Regions from separate parts of the Homo sapiens genome. Here region 1 is linked to region 2. Evidence: promoter capture Hi-C in human tissues and cell types (Jung and others, 2019). All regions are on one chromosome and are shown on one strand. Each heading gives the region's core, a stretch centred on a gene start or on the middle of the fragment in contact. The rest is flanking DNA. Distances are from core to core; before and after follow the strand shown.

What was found. Contacts are between HindIII fragments. The study calls those that stand out against the background at their distance.
Region 1: a contact is called between a fragment that was not itself captured here and the fragment with the promoter of MAP3K10 in region 2, in 1 of the 25 tissues and cell types used here (pancreas).

What each region holds. Positions count from the first base shown.
Region 1 is chr19:39,058,409-39,061,708 of GRCh38, forward strand. No RefSeq gene overlaps it. Among named protein-coding and RNA genes, the nearest start is that of ACP7, 24 kb to the right of the region's middle. RefSeq lists an enhancer at 97-598. The HindIII fragment of the contact is 6,146 bases long and covers 1-3,300 here.
Region 2 is chr19:40,189,045-40,192,736 of GRCh38, forward strand. MAP3K10 (mitogen-activated protein kinase kinase kinase 10) reads left to right here and starts at 2,382. Exons shown (of 10, transcript NM_002446.4): 1 at 2,382-3,669. The coding sequence starts at 2,988. RefSeq lists an enhancer at 1,610-1,849 and silencers at 2,010-2,509, 2,780-3,079. The HindIII fragment of the contact is 11,839 bases long and covers 355-3,692 here.

The sequences.
Region 1 (3,300 bases), core at 682-3,181, 1.1 Mb before region 2:
AAGCGATTCTCCTTCTTCAGCCTCCCTCCCAAGTAGCTGGGATTACAGGCGTGCGCCAACATGACTTGCTAATTTTTTTTTTTTTTGTATTTTTATTTTTATTTTTTTTTGTTTTTTATTATTATTTTTTTTTAATTTATTTTTTTATTGATAATTCTTGGGTGTTTCTCACAGAGGGGGATTTGGCAGGGTCATGGGACAATAGTGGAGGGAAGGTCAGCAGATAAACAAGTGAACAAAGGTCTCTGGTTTTCCTAGGCAGAGGACCCTGCGGCCTTCCGCAGTGTTTGTGTCCCTGATTACTTGAGATTAGGGATTGGTGATGACTCTTAACGAGCATGCTGCCTTCAAGCATCTGTTTAACAAAGCACATCTTGCACCGCCCTTAATCCATTTAACCCTGAGTGGACACAGCACATGTTTTTGTATTTTTAGTAGAGACGTGGTTTCACCATGTTGGCCAGGCTGGTCTTGAACTCCTGGCCTCAGGTGATCGGCCCATCGTGGCCTCCCAAAGTGTTGGGATTACAGGCATGAGCCACTGCACCTGGCCAAGGAGCCTCCATTTTAGATGGTAAGTTCAATTTGGGGGTGTTGGGAAGCCCGCTGCGGCCACCCAGCTAAGCCTTTACCAACAGGCTGATATATATTTTTTTAATTTTTAATTTTTGTAGGTGTACTTATTTATGGGGTAAATGAAATGTTTTGATACAAGCATGGAATGTATAATAATCACATCCTGGAGAATGGGGCATCCATCCCCTCAAGCATTTATCCTTTGTGTTACAAACAATCCAATTATACTCTTTCAGTTATCTTTAAATAGGCGAGTTATTATTGACTATAGGCGCCCTGTTGTGTGATCAAATAGTAGGTCTTATTCATTATTTCTATTTTTTTATACCCACTAACCATCCTCTCCTCCCCCCAACCTCCACTATCCTTCCCAGCCTCTCTATGTCCATGAGTTCAATTGTTTTGATTTTTAACTCCCACAAATAAGTGAGAACATGTGATGTTTGTCTTTCTGAACCTGGTTTATTTCACTTAACATAATGGTCTCCAGTTCCATTCATGTTGTTACAAATGACTAGATCTCATTCTTTTTTATGGCTAAATAGTACTCCACTGTGCATATGTACATTTTCCTTATCCATTCATCTGCTGATGGACACTTAGGTTGCTTCCAAATTTTGGCTACTGTGAGCAGTGCTGCAATACACATGTCAGTGTAGATATTTCCTTAACAGATACACTGATTTCCATTCTATGGGGTATATACCCAGCAGTGGGATTGCTGGATCATATGGTAGCTCAAATTTTTAGGTGTTTTGTTTTTTTTTTTTTTTTTGAGACAGAGTCTAGCTCTGTCCCTCAGGCTCAAGTGCAGTGGTGTGATCTTGCTCACTGCAACCTCTGCCTCCCAGGTTCAACTGATTCTTCTGCCTCAGCCTCCTGAGTAGCTGGGATGACAGGCATGCACCATGACGCCTGGCTAATTTTTGTATTTTTAGTAGAGACGGGGTTTCACCACATTGGCCAGGCTGGTCTTGAACTCCTGACCTCAAGGGATCCACCTGCTTTGGCCTCCCAAAGTGTTGGGATTACAGGTGTGCGCCACTGCGCCCAGCCTCAATTTTTAGTTTTTTGAGGAACCTCCAAACTGTTCTCCACGGTGGTTGTACTAATTTACATTCCCACCAACAATGTACGAGGGTTCCCTTTTCTTCACATCATTGCCAGCATTTGTTATTGCCTGTCTTTTGGATATAAGGCACTTTAATTGGGGTGAGATGATATATCTCACTGTAGTTTTGATTTGCATCTCTCTAATGATCAGCGATGTTGAGCCCCTTTTCATATGCCAATAGGCGGATATTTCTAGCTGTCTGTGTGATTCCTGGGTCTACTTCTCCAAAATCAGACTGGAAGCAGAGAGGCAGTGTGGAGAGCAGATAAGAGTCAGGGCTCTGCTGCCAGACTGCCCGAGTTCAAATCCTGGCTCCACCTCTGGCTCACTGGGGGGACTTTGAGCATGCCACTCAGTCTTTCTGACCTCAGTTTCCCCCTGTATAAAATGGGGATGATAATGCTACCTATCTCATAGGGTTGTGGAGAGGACCAAATGAGCTAGTATGGGGTATTTCATGGATCCACGGAATTGGGATGGGTGTTAAAATAGATGATCTGTTGTGGTTTAATCAACAGTGGTCTTTTTTGCTTCCTTTTTTTTTTTTTTTTTTGAGATGGAGTCTCACTCTTGTTGCCCAGGCTGCAGTACAGTGGCGCAATCTTGGCTCACTGCAGCCTCTGCCTCCTGGGTTCAAGCAATTTTCCTGCCTCAGCCTCCTGAGTAGCTGGGATTACAGGCATGTGCCACCACGCCCGGCTAATTTTGTATTTTTAGTAAAGATGGGGTTTCTCCATGTTGGTCAGGCTGGTCTCGAACTCCTGACCTCAGGTGATCCACCTGCCTCCGCCTCTCAAAGTGTTGGGATTACAGGCGTGAGCCACTGCGCCTGGCCTTTTTTATTTTTATTTTTATTTTTTTTTTAGATAGAGTCTTCCTCTGTCGCCCAGGCTAGAGTGCAGTGGCACGATCTCGGCTCACTGCAACCTCCGCCTTCCGGGTTCAAGTAATCCTCCCGCCTCAGTCTCCTGAGTAGCTGAGATTACAGGTGTCTGCCACCATGCCCAGCTAATTTTTGTCTTTTTAGTAGAGACAGGGTTTCACCATGTTGGTCAGGGTGGTCTCAAACTCCTGGCCTCAGGTGATCCACCTGCCTCGGCCTCCCAAAGTGTTGGGATTGCAGGTGTGAGCCACTGCACCTGGCTGCTTTATTTTTTTCTTTCTAAGATGGCTCTTATGCACAGAGCACCTTAGAGTTGGTGTAATAGGGCACATGGGAAGGCTAAGAGCAGTGCTTGTAGCACAGAAAGTAGCATGTGACTGTTGATCAGTATCATTACTGTTAATTCCCCTCAAACACCCCACAGCTCCCTCCGCTCTCTTGAGGGAGTCCCGCAGAAAGACAGCTTCTCTCTCTCTCTCATTCTGTCTTTCTCTCTCCCTTGCCTCTGCTGAACTCAAACAAGAAAGCGTGTTGCAGTGGTGTTGGCAGCCTTTCACTTACAACCTTATCTTCAGGATGAAGATAAAACTAGATAGAGATTGCAGAGCAGAGAAACGGGAACCCAGGATGCCAATGACATCAGTGAGCATCTGGACAGACTACACATCTTCTGTGGGTTTCCTGTTACTTGCAGCCCAAAGCATTCATATGTGGAGTGTGTGTGTGT
Region 2 (3,692 bases), core at 1,132-3,631:
TACCTATTCTAGTGTTTCTATTAGCATCATTATTGGTTTTGTAGCACTCTGAATATAAAGTTGTATACAAGAGGCCGGGCATGGTGCCTCACACCTGTAATCCCAGCACTTTGAGAGGCCAAGGCGGGCGGATCACGAGGTCAGGAGATCGAGACTATCCTGGCCAACATGGTGAAACCCTGTCTCTACTAAAAATACAAAAATTAGCTGGGCATGGTGGCGCCCACCTGTAATTCCAACTACTCGGAAGGCTGAAGCAGGAGAATCACTTGAACCAGGGAGTCGGAGGTTGTGGTATGCCAAGACCGTGCCACTGCACTCCAGCCTGGCAACAGAGTGAGACTCCATCTCAAAAAAAAAAAAAGTTGTATACAGGTTTTTATTTTTACTTTTTTTTTTTTGAGTCAGGGTCTCGCTCTGTCTCTCAGGCTGGAGTGCAGTCAGTGCCACAATCACAGCTCACAGTAGCCTCGACCTCCTGGGCTCAGGTAATACCCCTATACCTCAGTCTCCCGAGTAGCTGGGAACACAGGTGCACACCACCACACCCGCCTAATTTTTTATTTTTTTGTAGAGACGGAGTCTCCCTATGTTGCCCAGGCTAGTCTGAAACTCCTGGACTCCAGTAATTCTCCCTCCTCGGCCTCTGAAAGTGCTGGGATTACAGGCATGAGCCACCGTGCCCAGCTAGTTGCATATATTTTGAGCAATCTGTCTCTAACTCTATTTTTTCCATGAAGTCTTGTTAATTTTAGTGCACCGTTTTGAAGAACTGAAGGTTTTTTAAGAATGCATATAGCAGGTTATAGCAGAAACACTTATACTCAGAATGAAGCTGGGGCTCTCTCTTCCAACAAGCATTTTTGATATGCTCCGAGTGTCCCTGCTAGGTAGCCAGGAGACCAGGTAACCCACTTCCCTCTGACAATGGAACAATTCCCCAAGGACCCTGAGGGGCAGTTCTCTGGAGTTTGGGCACTAGAGTCCCTCTTATTTCCTCTTCTTCTCTCCTCCCTCTAGACCCCATACCACTCAGGAGAGGCCAAGTAAAAAGACCCAGAATTTTGCCTCTTACAAGCTTAGAGATCTTGAAGAAGTCACTGAACCTCTGCGGGACCTACTTTCCTCATTCTTTAAATAGAAAGGCAGTGGGTTTTTTGTTTGTTTGTTTTTTGTTGTTTTTTTTTTTGTTGTTGTTGTTTTTGTTAATCGTGGCGATGGTTATTTATTTATTTATTTATTTTGAGACGGAGTCTTGCCCTGTCGTCCAGGCTGGAGTGCTGTGGCGTGATCTTGGCTCACTGCAACCTCCACCTCCCAGGTTCAAGCGATTCTCCTGCCTCAGCCTCCCGAGTAGCTGGGATAGATTACAGGCGCACACCACCACGCCCGGCTAATTTTTTTTTTTTTTTTTAAATAGTAGAGACGGGGGTTTCACCATGCTGGCCAGGCTGGTCACGAACTCCTGGCCTCGTGATCCGCCCGCCTTGGCCTCCCATAGCGCTGAGATTACAGGCGTGAGCCACCGCGCCCGGCCTGGTTGTTAATTTTTAAAACTGCCTTTCATTTTTGCTTTGCCATTTATAGCTCTGTAGCCTTGCACAAATGACTTCACTTCTCTATGAGTCATCTGTAAAATGGGGCTCTTTGTGAAGACTTAACGATACCACGTGTACAAAGCACTGAATACAACATGCACATTAAGCTCCCCGAAATTGAAACTCCTATAAAATAGGAATCGGGGATTCTCAAGAGCAGGAGTTCTGACTTCAGCAGAGGAACCCAGAGCTGGTGGGGAAAGCAGACGTGGCTGTGACATCCCCAGGGACACTAAACACATCCTCCCAGCCCCATCTTCCCCGCAGAGTCCCGCCACCGGCCCGACCCCTAACTTGCTCCAACCACCCGCCGACGCCCGCAGCCCGCTGTTTGGGGGCCGCCCCCTGCAGCGCCAGGTCCCCGCGCGGACTACAGTTCCCAGCGTACATCTCGGTCGGGGGGTCCGAGGGGCCGTCCTGCCTCAGGGATAAGGTCCAGGCTGCGTTCGCGGCTCCGGGCAGTCACAGTCATGCACGCAGCTCCTATTTTTCGCGTTGCTAATCGCGTCCGTTGCAGTCCAACCCATCCTGGGCCGCGGCCCCCACAGGGTCTGTGAGGAGCGCTTCCCCCCGCCCCGGGCGCCCGCTACGCCGCGTCCGAAGGAGGGGCCGAGGCCGGGCTCATCTCCCCGGGAGGACTCCTTCGGCTTCGTGGGGTGTCATGTCCATTGCGGCCCGAGGCTGGCCGCGGGGCTCTGCTGGAGGGCGCTGAGAGCCGGGCCCCGAGGCCGCACGGCCGGAGACTACAACTCCCAGGAGGCACCGCGGCGGCGGCGCCCACACGTCACTCGGGCCCCGCCGGTGGCCCGGGGAAGCAGCACGGGCGGGGGGCAGGGGCTGGGGCCGACCGGGAGGCCGGTGCCAAGGATGGGGGCCGCCCGGCTGCCCCGCGCGTGAGGAGGCCGAGGGGCGCGCCACCCCGGCCCGGGGCGGCCGCCCCAGGGGCCCCGCCACCCCCGCCCGGCCCGGCAGTCGTGGCCCGGGATGCGGAGCCGGGGGCCGCCGGTGGAGCTGCGCGGGGTGAGCGGCGCGGGGAACGGGGACTGCCTGCCGCCCTCGCCCTCGTCCCCCACCGGCGGACCCCGGCGGGCATTCGAGAGCCGCGCGGCCAGGCCCTCTTAGCCCTCTGCCGTTTGGGGGGCACGGGTGAACCTGCCGCCCCACTCCCACCCCGCCCCGCCCCGCCCGTACAGCCAAATCGGAAGGGACGAGCCTGCCCTTTGAAAGGGTTTTTTTTCTTGCTCCTGCGGAGGGCGCCCCAGCCATGGCCCTCAGGAGCTCCCTAGACCCCGCAGGGACTGCCCTCCATCCCGGCCGCCGGGGCCCGCCCTCTGCATCCCGCGGGCAGCCTGTGTGAAGCGGCCTCCCGCAGCCCCCGGCCCCTCCCCCATGGAGGAGGAGGAGGGGGCGGTGGCCAAGGAGTGGGGCACGACCCCCGCGGGGCCCGTCTGGACCGCGGTGTTCGACTACGAGGCGGCGGGCGACGAGGAGCTGACCCTGCGGAGGGGCGATCGCGTCCAGGTGCTTTCCCAAGACTGTGCGGTGTCCGGCGACGAGGGCTGGTGGACCGGGCAGCTCCCCAGCGGCCGCGTGGGCGTCTTCCCCAGCAACTACGTGGCCCCCGGCGCCCCCGCTGCACCCGCGGGCCTCCAGCTGCCCCAGGAGATCCCCTTCCACGAGCTGCAGCTAGAGGAGATCATCGGTGTGGGGGGCTTTGGCAAGGTCTATCGGGCCCTGTGGCGTGGCGAGGAGGTGGCAGTCAAGGCCGCCCGGCTGGACCCTGAGAAGGACCCGGCAGTGACAGCGGAGCAGGTGTGCCAGGAAGCCCGGCTCTTTGGAGCCCTGCAGCACCCCAACATAATTGCCCTTAGGGGCGCCTGCCTCAACCCCCCACACCTCTGCCTAGTGATGGAGTATGCCCGGGGTGGTGCACTGAGCAGGGTGCTGGCAGGTCGCCGGGTGCCACCTCACGTGCTGGTCAACTGGGCTGTGCAGGTGGCCCGGGGCATGAACTACCTACACAATGATGCCCCTGTGCCCATCATCCACCGGGACCTCAAGTCCATCAACAGTAAGTGGTGTCCTCTCCCCAAA